4 separate regions of the Homo sapiens genome follow, and all the other regions are linked to region 4. The links are contacts of gene promoters, found by promoter capture Hi-C in blood cells and fetal thymus (Javierre and others, 2016). All regions are on one chromosome and are shown on one strand. Each heading gives the region's core, a stretch centred on a gene start or on the middle of the fragment in contact. The rest is flanking DNA. Distances are from core to core; before and after follow the strand shown.

What was found. Contacts are between HindIII fragments. The CHiCAGO score rates a contact against its expected background, and 5 or more counts as called.
Region 1: a contact is called between the fragment with the promoter of NRDC here and the fragment with the promoter of CZIB-DT in region 4, in 1 of 17 cell types (fetal thymus). The highest score is 6.0, in fetal thymus.
Region 2: a fragment that was not itself captured here is called in contact with the fragment with the promoter of CZIB-DT in region 4 in 1 of 17 cell types (fetal thymus); the score reaches 5.9 in fetal thymus.
Region 3: a fragment that was not itself captured here is called in contact with the fragment with the promoter of CZIB-DT in region 4 in 3 of 17 cell types (naive CD4 T cells, fetal thymus and total B cells); the score reaches 5.6 in naive CD4 T cells.

Annotation. Positions count from the first base shown.
Region 1 is chr1:51,877,019-51,880,222 of GRCh38, reverse strand. NRDC (nardilysin convertase) reads left to right here and starts at 1,496. Exons shown (of 31, transcript NM_001101662.2): 1 at 1,496-1,948. The coding sequence starts at 1,608. RefSeq lists enhancers at 205-758, 1,149-1,328, 1,212-1,506, 3,175-3,204 and a silencer at 1,409-1,458. The HindIII fragment of the contact is 5,345 bases long and covers 1-2,172 here.
Region 2 is chr1:52,029,570-52,032,769 of GRCh38, reverse strand. The region is part of intron 2 of TXNDC12 (thioredoxin domain containing 12); the gene reads left to right. KTI12 (KTI12 chromatin associated homolog) reads left to right here. Exons shown (of 1, transcript NM_138417.3): 1 at 1-667. The coding sequence ends at 73. Among named protein-coding and RNA genes, the nearest start is that of KTI12, 2.6 kb to the left of the region's middle. The HindIII fragment of the contact is 2,042 bases long and covers 874-2,915 here.
Region 3 is chr1:52,057,887-52,060,995 of GRCh38, reverse strand. It overlaps BTF3L4 (basic transcription factor 3 like 4), which reads right to left. Exons shown (of 6, transcript NM_152265.5): 2 at 1,095-1,161. The coding sequence starts at 1,148. Among named protein-coding and RNA genes, the nearest start is that of BTF3L4, 3.1 kb to the right of the region's middle. The HindIII fragment of the contact is 1,122 bases long and covers 826-1,947 here.
Region 4 is chr1:53,218,844-53,222,210 of GRCh38, reverse strand. CZIB-DT (CZIB divergent transcript) reads right to left here and starts at 1,851. Exons shown (of 1, transcript NR_185918.1): 1 at 1-1,851. CZIB (CXXC motif containing zinc binding protein) reads left to right here and starts at 1,577. Exons shown (of 8, transcript NM_017887.3): 1 at 1,577-1,641; 2 at 1,867-1,950; 3 at 3,288-3,344. The coding sequence starts at 1,636. RefSeq lists silencers at 1,246-1,305, 1,436-1,805 and an enhancer at 1,675-2,176. The HindIII fragment of the contact is 4,059 bases long and covers 1-2,143 here.

The DNA of each region.
Region 1 (3,204 bases), core at 247-2,746, 1.3 Mb after region 4:
GAGCAGTCTAAAAAAAAAACTCTCTGACTCTCCCAGGTGGCAGTCCTCAATAAGACTTCTGAAGAAAGCTAACTTGAATTATTTAAAAGCCTGATTTACTTTAGTTTACATATTTTACAGTTCCTTCCCATTAGGATGCAAGCTCCCCCAAGGCAAGGCTTTAAATTTTTGTTGTCGTTGTTTAGACAGGGTCTCACTGTGTCAACCAGGCTGGAGTGCAGTGTTGCAATCACGGCTCACTGCAGCCTCGACCTCCTGGACTCAAGCGTTCCTCCTGCCTCAGCCTCCTGAGTAGCTGGGACCACATGCACGCATCACCAAGCCTGGCTAATTTTAAAAAAGAATTTTGTACAGACGGGGGTCTCACCATGTTGTCCAGGCTGGTACCAAATTCCCAGGCTCAAAGCAATCCTCCCGCTTCGGCCTCCCAAAGTACTAGGATTATAGGTGTGAGCTATCACTATCACGCCCAGCCTAAGGCAAGTTTTGTTTTGTTCATGGTTGTATTCCTTGCATTTGGAACTCAGAAGAGGCCTCGAAAACCTTGAAGATACAGTAACTATCAACACATCTCCCTGCTTCACGTCTTTCCCCGCTCATTCGTATGTATGAGCTATGATCTCTTACCCCATGGTGTCAGTATAGTGCATCTTACTAATTTCAGCTGCTTTTTAGCTTTCATTTATGTTTGTATTTCCGTCACATTTTACATTGCTAACCAAAGACCACTGCTAGCGGGAAAAACTGGGAAAGGAGACTTGAAGGCAGCAGACGCTGCAGCTGCTCGATAAAAATTGGCCGAATTTAACAGGAGGCTGGAGGAGCTAAAAAACGTTTTCACACAGAAGAGTTAGCACATCCAGACTGGTCTTTTTAGCACTTTCTTAGGGCTTGAGGATGAAACCCCACCACTGTCGGGCCGACTGTAGGGTAGAGAAGAGCCAATTAGTATTTGCGGCGCTCGGGAGCAGCGTCCATCCGGCGGGTGTAGGAAAATACTTCCGGCGTTCTGGTTTTTTATGTGCTGAGTCACAGCCGAAGGCTCGCCCCGGGTCTGAGGAGTAGGGTACCCAAACTATGACACGAATGGGAAAATTTAAAACTTTGGAATTAATTCTCTGCACTCGTTTCTCAGTTTTCTCATTAGGGGAATATTTTTCTTTGACACGCGGAGCACTACTCAGTGGTTTCCACAAAACACACTCGTACGTCATAAACGCGCCGGGGGCCCTTCTCCCGTCGTCCTCCGCGCCACTCTCTCCGCTTCTTCTCCCTCGCCCCGCCCACTTTGGGTTTCGAAATGTTCGCTGGCTGTTCCGAGAATCAGTCCGGGTCACGTTGGTGCCTCTCCTTTCCTGTTCTGATTGGTTGCTTACGTGAGCGTGACTACTTTCTTGCCTCATGATTGGCTGAAATCAGTAGCGTCATCGGCGGCCGGGAGGGCGGAGGGACGAGGGAAGTCGGCGAGAGGGAGACTGGGTTGGGGGAGGGGTTCAGGCCTGTTCCCCGCGGCTGCGGCAGCACCAGGGCCGGCCGCCACCGCCTCTAGAACGCGGAGGAGGTGGGTCCTGGGAAGCGGGATGTCCATCGCTCCAGCTTGGTGGTGAATGCTGAGGAGAGTCACTGTTGCTGCAGTCTGTGCCACCCGGAGGAAGTTGTGTGAGGCCGGGCGGGAGCTCGCGGCGCTCTGGGGAATCGAAACGCGGGGTCGGTGCGAAGACTCTGCTGCTGCCAGACCCTTTCCTATTCTGGCCATGCCTGGAAGGAACAAGGCGAAGTCTACCTGCAGCTGCCCTGACCTGCAGCCCAATGGACAGGATCTGGGCGAGAACAGCCGGGTTGCCCGTCTAGGAGCGGATGAATCTGAGGAAGAGGGACGGAGGGGGTCTCTCAGTAATGCTGGGGACCCTGAGATCGTCAAGTCTCCCAGCGACCCCAAGCAATACCGGTGAGGGAGGAGGCTTGCAATGGGGAGGCGAACAGTGTGCCGGCTTCTCTGTCGGTGCCGCCGTCACTTCTTGTCTCCATGTCTCCCAATGGAGCAACAGGGCACACTTTCCACCCCAAATGCTTCCTTGGGTGGAGGTGGCAAGCGTGATTAGAGGCTTCCCTGTGGTGTCAGCTGGGCAAGTGGGAGATCTTGGGTTGTAAGACGTCAGAATGGGAGAAGCTTTTCGAGTCATTTGAATACAGTCGCTAAAGCAAGAATGAAGGTTTCTTTGAGGAACGCAGCCTGAATGGTGAGGGAGTCTTGGTATTATGTTACCAGGAAAGGTTGACGGAGTTGGATACTTTAATTTGGAGGACAGGATATTTAAGGGGCATATTATCACTATCCAAAATATTTGAGGGACACTTAAGTGATAGGTGAAACTAGTGGACGAAAGTTACCAGAGGATGGTGTGGCTTCAGTAAAGTAACTTTGCATCATATTTGGCCTAAGTTGAAGTGACTTGTTTCCATGGGTAGTTCTCCATTACCAAAACGGTTGGGCGACCTCGTCCAGGAATATATTAGAGAGGGCTTAGGTCTCAGTTGGGTGAGTTGTAAGGTTTCTTCTAACCTTGAAATTCTCTACTTTTGGTTTGTACAGGAGTTCTCTAAACATTTCTAATAATTGGTGATTCAGTCCCCACCTGAGTATTTTCCTTCAGAGGTAGCTTATTTCATGGAGTATCATGACTATGATGTATCTTGCGTGTGTGTGTGTGCGTGTGTGTTTTAATAAGAGTCTGGGTCTTGCGATGTTGCCCAGGCTAATTTCAAACTCCTGGGCTTAGGGAATCCTCCTGTCTTGGCCTCCCAAAGTACTGGGATTACAGGCGTGAGCCACTGTGCCAGGCCTGGACTTTGATGTATTTTAAATAGAGTTCATATTGTCCAATAACTTCGTTGAACAGGTTGAGGAAATTGAGACCCAAAGAGTTTGCTTCTTGCTCTGAATCACACAGCTAAATAATAACAGAGCTGGTATGATGACCCCTACTATCTGACACCAAATTCAGTGTATCATTTGCTGATTTCCTTTTTTTTTTTGAAACGGAGTCTTGCTGTGTCACCAGGCTGGAGTGCAGTGGCGCGATCTTGGCTCACTGCAACCTCCGCCTCCCGGGTTCAAGCGATTCTCCTGCCTCAGCCTCCCCAGTAGCTGGGACTACAGGTGCTCGCCACCACGCCCGGCTAATTTTTTGTATTTTTAGTGGA
Region 2 (3,200 bases), core at 645-3,144, 1.2 Mb after region 4:
GCATCCCAACAATGAGAACTTGCCGCAACTGGCCAACATGTTTCTTCAGTATTTGAGCCAGAGCCTGCACTGACCAGAGGAGGTAGGGGGGAAGCCATGGCTTCTGATCTCCACTCCACTTTATTTCTCTGGGAAAAATAGGCTGCAGGTCTCCAGAGCATATCGATGCAGTACTGTACTAGAGCTGTTGTGACTGATTCACTCAAACTTTCCTGCATACCCCTGTGCCAGGCCTTGGGTTTACAGCATAAGTTCAGACTAAAGAGAATGGAGAACTATTGTGGTGCAACCTGGCAAATCCCTCAGAGGACAGAGCTAAGGTGGACAGGGATTACCTAGATTGGATCCTACTTGGGCTATCACAGAGCATTGACCATTGGCTTCCCTCATCTGAGGCGTGGGAGAGCAGACTGGATAGATGAGAATTGTTTTAAAACAATTGTGAACAGAAACTGAAGATGGTACAGTTCTACATCTGCACCTGCCCTTTTTTCATACCACAAAAGTATTTTTTGAGTACTGTACTGACTTTTTGCTAGTTTCTATTCTGGGACCGAGTTCACAGATAAATCCATTGGTTTGTATCCTTGAGAAACTTTGTTTTTGTGGAAGTAAGAAAGTTATCTACTAGATTATTTCCTCTAATAAAATCTTTTAAAATAGTCTACTGGAATCTCTTTCACTTAATGTTCCCTGTGTAACTTCATGTAACATTTTAGGTATACTTGTCATTGTTCTGCCTTTAAGTGAAGTAGTATTTTGATAGTTCTGAGAGAGTAGATGTTTTGAGCTACTCTACAGTAATTATATTATGACAATTTCCGTAACTGTTTTGCTTCATTCTGCATTTCAAGGCAAATATCATTGTAAGCTTGTCTTTCATTCTTCATTGATTTCATTGAACAAATGGTAGGTACCTACTTTAACAGTGGCTGTGATTTTCAAAGACCAATTAGATACAGTGTTTTTGCTCTTGAGATATGTGGTGAGAAGCCGGGTGTGGTGGCTCATACTTGTAATCCCAGCACTTTGGGAGTCCAAAATCGAGGTCAGGAGTTCGAGACCAGCCTGGCCAACGTGGCAAAACCTCGTCTCTATTAACAGTACAAAAATTAGTTGGGCGTGATGGTGTGCCTGTAATCCCAGCTACTCTGGAGGCTGAGGCACGAGAATCGCTTGAACCTGGGAGGTGGAGGTTGCAGTGAGCTGAGATCGCACCACTGCACTCCAGCCTGGGCAGCAGTGAAACTGGGTCTTGAAAAACAAACAAAAAGAGATATGTGGTGAGAAATACAAGTAAAAGATAGAATTAGGCTGGGTGCGGTGGCTCATGCCTGTAACCCCAGCACTTCAGGAGCCCAAGGCGGGTGGATCACAAGGTCAGGTGTTCAAGACCAGCCTGACCAACATGGTGAAACCCCATCTCTACTAAAAATACAAAAATTAGCCGGGCGTGGTGGCACGTGCCTGTAATCCCAGCTACTCAGGAGGCTGAGGCAGGAGAATCGCTTGAACCCGGGAGGCGGAGGTTGCAGTGAGCCGAGATCGCGCCACTGCACTCCAGCCTAGGTGACAGAAGGAGACTCCATCTCAAAAAAAAAAAAAAAAAGATAGGATGAAATGGGCTGGTGGTCAGAGGATGATGACAAAAGACAAAATGCTTTGGAAACCTGGTGAAGAGGACTAACTAGCTGTTGGGGGAGGTGGTTTTGGAAAGGTTTTAAGAGGAGTTAACATTTGAACCATCACTGTAGAATAAAGTCAGTAAAGGGCCAAATGGTAAATGTTTTAGGCTTTGTGGACCATCAAATGCTGTTGCTACTTATAGATGGTAAGTAAACAAATAAGCATGAATGTATTTTAATAAAACTACACTGAAATGTGAATTACAATTAATTTTAACATATCACAAAGGAGTCTTTAGATTTGCTTTGCAAACATTGAAAAATGTAAAAATATACAACAAAATATTTGCATATCATGGGCCCTACGGAAGCAGACGGTGGGCTGGATTTGGCCTGCAGACCCTAGTTTGCCAACCCCTGCTCTAGAAGGATAAACAGATGTTTGCCAGGGAGAAAAGAGAAAGCAAGACATTCGAAAACATGCATGCTCTGAAACTATGGAGCTGTTAAAAGAGAGGGTAGATGGGCTGCCTTGGTTGATGGTATATTCCTTGCTCATCAGGTAATCTATACTACCTTTTGTTTCTGATAAACAGGATTCATGTGTGAAATGGAAGTCTGGATGAGGCAAACTCAAAAGGCTTTTTCCAACCTTCATTAAGTTGGTTATTGATTGAATTGGGTCTAACCATGGATTCTGGATTACCATTCTAAATTGAAGTAGACTGTAACCGTCAGAAAGAACATTGGTTTTGGAGTCGGACTTCTGAGTTAGCTAGTAAGTGGCAGAACCTAGGTTTTTGTTTTGGGTTTTTATTTTTTTTTATTTATTTATTTTTGAGACAAGGTCTGGCTGTCTCCCAGGCTGGAGTGAAGTGCTGTGAGTAGCTGGGACTACAGGCATGCACCCCACGACCGGCTAAGTTTTGTATTTTTTTGTAGAGACAGGTTTTCACCATGTTGCCCTGGCTGGTCTTGGACTTGTGAGCTCAAGTGATCCTCCAGCCTCGGCCTCCCAAAGTGCTGAGATTACAGGTGTGAGCCACTGTGCCCGGCCTAGAACCTAGATTTTATGGGGCCAAATATTTACTCTATTGAGCATCTCAATTTTCTCATTTCTATTGTGAGACCATTAATAGTATCTACCCTAGGGTTATTTTGAGGATTTAAATGAGATAATGCATATACAGCACAATGTCATATAATAAACGTTCAGCACATTTTGGCTATTATGGTTACCTATATCCTACTACCCACCTAAACTTGCCCTGCTCATTTGGTTTACAAGCTTTTACAAGTATTGCAGGCAGAAGTCCATCCAGATGTGAGGTAGGCCTAAGGTGAGGTGACTGAATGATTCATTTGACACTTATTAAATGAGTTAATTTATGTATATTTACAGTAGTGCCTGGCACATGGCAAATGGTATATAAGTGTTTGCTATCAATAATATATGTGTCAGATGTAAAGGATATAGAGACAGCTAAGAGTTCCTTGTCTTAGGAATCTCCAAGTCCAGTGGAGGGAGATGGGTAAATAATAGGTACAGATCAATATGTTAAGTGCATGGTAGCT
Region 3 (3,109 bases), core at 137-2,636, 1.2 Mb after region 4:
TATACAACAGCTAAATCGAATGTACCAACCACAGTTTTAAAATACACAATGGCGATGTGGTACATCAAGCTCTTCTAGGTATATTCTATGGTTCTTGAATATCCCTAGTTTCTGCATTGGCACATCACATCACACTTGATGCTACAATGTGACTACTGTGGTTACATGAGTGTGTTATTCTAACTCCAGACTCATATAACTGTATCACTGTGGGAGAAGGAGAAAGTACTGGCTCTTCTTCCCTTCCCTTCCCTTGTGCTCATCCCCAGGAACTGTGGTTATCATCAGTGTAAATGACACAGTGGGACCCACTACAAAAAGTAGTGTCCTACCTACCACTTCAGGTCTGAGGTAAGTACTATTCTTTCTTTCACTTTTGCAAAGATTGTGTTGGGCAGAGATATGGGTAGAATATTCTCCTTGAGCCTGGTGCCACAGCTGAAGAGAATCAAAGACTTCAGTTGCTCACAACTAGTTCTTCCTTAGGCTTTAAAAAGTACAGGGAATAAGAAAGCTGATATTCATATTCACCAACATGGAAGAACAGGTAAGAATTTGTGAGGAAAACCTGGCAATGAACAAAATATATAATCAACTTAAGCATCTCCAGCTAAACCTCTGTACAAGTAGGTAACATCCAGTCAAGACAAAGTAACCCTAACATCTGGTATGCCCTGCAAGTGAGTCTAACCATAATAATAGCTATAATTTATTAAGCATCTACTCTGTGCTAGACACCACATTAGGTGTTTTATAAATATTACCCTAATCTTTAAACACCTTATGTAGGATTATTTCTATTTTGCAGATAAGAAAGTGGAAGCTTAACAAGGTTGGATAACTTGTTCACATCATATAACTAGCAGATGGTAAGAGTTAGGATTCAAACAAATGTGGCTATTTCCATTGCATCATCAGAGAGAAAAGTGTTCTAGTTACCTATTTTAGATCTAGACAAGTTATTTTCAAATTGGAATGTGGTTTGATCTTGATTATTGAAAAGATTTTAGATTTTCAATGACCACAAATCCGAAATAATAACACTATCTGGTAATCATACATTCTCCTATCAATTTTTCTTATGCCACACTCACCTTGCCCCCTATCCGGACCTGAGCCTGAAGTTTGGCTAACTTTTCTTGATTCATGCTGTTGGTAAATCTAGGGGGGGAAAAATAGATTTGTTAAAGTCACTCTTTTGCCGAAATTAACAAACTGTTTATGCAACAGTACCTTCTGGTTCACTGAGCTTGTAGTATGCATCAACACCATGACCATATTAATACTGTCTATATTCTTAATAAACATTAATAACTTGTTCTAGCTTCATAAACCAGATATTTTTAAAAATCAAAATTAAATTACCATGAGGGAATCAAATATACAAACAGAAAGTAGAATGGGATTCAAAGTCACCTATTCAAAGATCCCTCCTTAAAACATGATTCAATCCTTTGGCATTCAGTTAAGCCTAACCAATTATGAAATCTCTGTAGGCAAGCCAGTTTTTTTCCCCCAAAGATTTTTACAGCAGAGAGCTGTTACCAAATGTTATTAGCAAAATCTTCAAGTAGATTTTTTTCCTCCCAAATCACATTCTGTATTTCTTATAAACCATAAAGATGACAAAAGGAAAAAAAAGCTGAACAAAGAAGAAATTCAACAAAAGGCTGTCTAGCTGTCAAGATATCAAGTAGTCATGTCCTCTATTCAAGGTCAGATGGTATGTTAATAATGGGGAAAGAGAACCAGGTTTTCAGACATTTGGTGCTTCTGCAGCACTCTCCAGAGTTCATTCAATACCCTGCACTGATATAGTATGTTATACTTGTCAAGACATTCTTGCATACAGGGTAAAATGCTTCATTGCACAATTTAACAAAAACATATCTTTGCTACAGTAATAAATGTTGGGGGGGGGCAGAGAGGAGACTCCTAAAACAAGCTTTTTAAAGTTAATCTTGATTTTGAAGATTCTAAAATTATAGTCATGAATCTAGTCTGGTCAGTGATAATCCCACTAAGAAAAAAACATTCTTAAGTTTATAATGGGTCATCACATTCCACATTACATAAACAAAGAAAAGCCAAATTCAGGCCCGGCACGGTGGCTCACGCCTGTAATCCCAGCACTTTGGGAGGCCGAGGCGGATGGATCACCTGAGGTCGGGAGTTCGAGGCCAGCCTGACCAACATGGAGAAACCTGTCTTTACTAAAAATACAAAATTAGCCGGGCGTGGTGGCACATGCCTGTAATCCCAGCTACTCAGAAGGCTGAGGCAGGAGAATCGCCTGAACCCGGGAGGCGGAGGTTGCGGTGAGCCAAGATCATGCCATTGCACTCCAGCCTGAGCAACAAGAGCGAAACTCCGTCTCAAAAAAAAAAAAAAGCCAAATTAAAAGTCTTGTTTTACTTGTTCTGCAGATCAACAAATCATTACTGAGATGTGAGGGAGGGAATAAGGGACTAGGTTGTTATCAAATCTTCTTTGGCCAATTCTCTAAACCCTGTATAGTCATCATTCACATGAAAAAAATACTGTTTGCTTCATTTGAGAGATTAAAAAAAGCAGCATCAAAGACTATATAATTACTAACCATTTTGTACTTTGACACTATCCTTAGGCAATAACCTATATATCTATCTCTTCTTTAAGGCTAATGTCCAGATCCCAAATAATATTTAGAATTTATGATTCTTCACTCTGCTCAGCGCTGTATCACAATGCTGAAGCAGCTAAAAACACTTTTATAGGAGGAAGTGTGTTTAGAGTCCAAAACAAGAAGTCTTAAATGTGTGCCAATCTTAGCTCTGCCATAGACTTAAATTTGATGACTTAAATCCCAATTCCTATGCTCAAATATCCACAGAAAAGGACCAACATTCACTTTTCTCAAAGGAATGTGGCCATGAGAGTGTAGTGAACTAACAAAGAGCCAAAGGAATTTATTGCAAAAAAAAAGGGGCTAAGGAAAAACATTAGACCTAGATACTTGGTAAACCCTTTGGGATTCTTCTGCATTTTGAAGTAACAATTCCCAAGAGAACAGACAGAGGTTGGGATGCCAAGACAAAGTCTTGACTTGTTTGAAATAAAAGCAAGAACA
Region 4 (3,367 bases), core at 602-3,101:
CCCAAGTCCACGGGCTCTGAGCTCAGCACAGCACCAGGACTTGCCCAGGAATTGCAGTCTTTGTGGCCTAGACTGCCTTTCGAATTTATTTAGGACCCTGAAGCACTTTAGCCAGTGGTGGTGGGGCTCGCCAGAACCTGACCACTGGGATGGATGATTCCCCTCTGGCTAGGGTTTCTCTAAGTGCTTCCTCTGTGGGCACTAGCTGAATTCTGCCCTGAGTTGCTTTCCACTGTGACAGGGCAAAACTCAGTTCCAATGCAAAGTCCCATAAGCACACAGATTCTCTCTCTATGCCAGGCAGCCAGGTGCTGCCAGAGGATGAGGGAGGGGTGGTGGTAGCAATTCAAGACTGTCTTTCCTACCCTCTTCATTGCCTTGTTCCTTTTTTTTTCTTCTTTTATGAGATAGAGTCTCACTCTGTCACCCAGGCTAGAGTGCAATGGCATGATCTCAGCTCACTACAACCTCCACCTCCCGGGTTCAAACAATTCTCCTGCCTTAGCCTCCGGAGTAGCTGGGACTACAGGTGTGCACTGCCATACTCGGCTGATTTTTGTATTTTTAGTAGAGACAGGGTTTCACTATGTTGGCCAGCTAGGTCTCAAACTCCTGACCTCAGGTGGTCTGCCCGCCTCAGCCTCCCAAAGCACTGGGATTACAGGTGTGAGCCACCGCACCCAGCCATTGCCTTATATCTTGATGTGACGTTACAACCAGCTACTGTGATTGCTACCTGAGTTTTGGTTCTCATGAAGGTGCTTTCTTGTGTGGATAGTTGTTCAGTTTGGTGTTCCTGCCAGGGAAGAGGAGGAGGAGGATCACTGGAGGGTTCTATTTGGCTATCTTGCCCCACCTCCTAGAAGAGTCTTGAATGTGCTGTTCCTTTTACCGTTAATCTCCACAGCTCCTGCATGGTCTCAGATGTAGCCTGGACAGGAGGCCAGGTAAAATAAAGTTCAATAAACGTTATGAGAGAAGGATAAGCCAGGTGGGCTCCCAAAAAAGAGCCAGCTGAAGGGGAATGTCCAGTCGCAAGGACCACAGTGAGAAGGATGTGGACACAGGGCAAACTCTGGAGAAGGGCCTAGAAACCAGGTCTCTTGGGTGAAACAGGAAAGGGCAGTTTGAAGAAAGGCATCATCCCCAAATCTGATAAACCAATACATTCTACTTTTTAAAGCGTATTGGTTTATCTTTATTTGGCAGTCTTGGAACTCTTCCTTTTGTAGCTTTTCCCCTGGGCAGAGGGAGCTGACGTGATCTGAGAAGTTCCAGGGCAGGCAGAGTAGTGAAGAGCCTGGAAAGAACTGAGGGTCAGGAACTGTCCTGTTCGCTTAAAGCAGGCACAAAATTGGCGTTCAGTAACTGTCTGTGGCACCACCGAATCCTGGAGTCAGGCTTCCGCTGGCCTGAGCACAGGTTGCTCGCGGACCTGGCTGACCTCCACTGGCCCCAGATCCCCAGATGCGAAAAGCCCAGTGGGCCAGGCGAGCAGCGGCGCGCAGAAGTCCCTGCCCCGCGGCCCGGCCCCGGCCCCGCCCTACTGAGGGTGCGCAGACGGCACCCGCCTTTTACGACGCGCCGGAAAGCAACGGCAAGGGCCGCAGCCAGCACCGGGCGGAGAGGGCTACCATGGGGGTGAGGGGAGGCCGCCCGCCGCGGGGACACGGAGGGGAGGTGGCGAGGGTCTGGGAGGCAACAGCTCGCGCCAGGAGGAGATGAAGCGAGTGGGTGCGCGCTGAAGGAGCAGGAGGCAGAAGGAGTGTCTCCCTGTGGCACCCACGGCTGGGAATGCGGGAGGGTCGGGCAGGCGTGGGGCTGCGCAGGCACGGCTGACGCAGTCGCTCTGGCCCTCCCCCTCAGAAAATCGCGCTGCAACTCAAAGCCACGCTGGAGAACATCACCAACCTCCGGCCCGTGGGCGAGGACTTCCGGTGGTACCTGAAGGTGCGGCCGGGGCGGGGCCCGGGGAGAGGAGGCCCGTCCTGATCTCAGTGCTGAACCGGAGCCTTCTCTCCGGCAGTATGAGAAAATATTTAACCAGGCACATTAAGTGTTCGGGGTTTTCCTAGTTAGAATTTTACGTTTGCTTTCTATTAAAGTGTATTGGTTTATCTCTAATTGGCAGTCTTGGAAAGCTTCATTTTGTAGTTCTTCCCTGTGTTAAATATTTCGTGGTCTGTAAATGGACACTAAACGAAATGCTACTTGAAGGGACGCTTGTGATTATTTAATAAGGTGAATAGTTCGCCTTTCGTTTATTGATTTGGTTTTCTTTATTGTGAAATAGTTTAATTTTGTGCGTAATCCACCCTTCCTTAGCCCTCCCACACTGGTAAAGCTGGTACCCTAGTGGCATGGTCTACAGAGGCCTCCCCTTCCCCAGCAGTTCGAGGCTCTTCACTCTTCCAGATCCCAGAGCTTCTGCTCTGTTTTACTCCTGGTCAAAAATCCCAGCATCCTTCTGTACCTCTCAAAAGCCCTGTTTTTCGGGAAGCTGCCTCCGGACTACTTTTGTTTCCCAGGATTTTGAAGCCTGAATACCAGGGCTTACTTGGGAGAATCTGTTCTTTGGCTTGAAGAAGCGGAATCGAGTGAAGGAGACAGAAAAATAGAGTAACAATAGAGTGATAAGTGCTTATACCAGTGACATACAGGGCCTGTGGGAACATAAAGCTAACCAAGCAGAGTGGGTCGGGGGCCTGCTGAGGCCATTTCTCTTTTTTTTTCTTAATTGACACAGAATTGTACATATTTATGGGGTATATAGTGATGTTCCGATAAATGTAATGTATTGTGATCAGATCAAGGTAGTTAGCATATTCACCTCAAACGTGTATCATTTCTTTGTGTTGGGAGCATTTAATATCCTAGCTATTTGAAACTATATATTATTGTCAGCTATAGTCATCCTACAGTGCTATAGAACACTAGAACTTATTCCTCCCATATAGCTGTAATTTTGTATCTTCTAACAAATCTCTCCATATTCCCCCCCCTCACCTCCGCTGAAACCATTTCTGCACCACAGGTGCCTTGAATCCCCGGCCACACTGAGCACTTCATAGAGGAGGGTGGGCACGCCGGCATAGGAAACAGCCTTACCTATCCTTTGCCCAGAGATAGTTCTAGTTTTGTCCTTGTTGGGGCAGGTGTTAGGGATGAAGTGAGATTGCCATCAAGAAGGTAGATCATGAGCCTGCCCACCTCCCACTGTTCTTACCCTTTCCTTGGTGTCTGTGCAGCAGAGCCAGCTGCTTTACTAACATTCTTTTTCCCCAAAGATGAAATGTGGCAACTGTGGTGAGATTTCGGACAAGTGGCAGTACATCCGGCTGATGGTAACTGTTCCCCGCCCAACCCC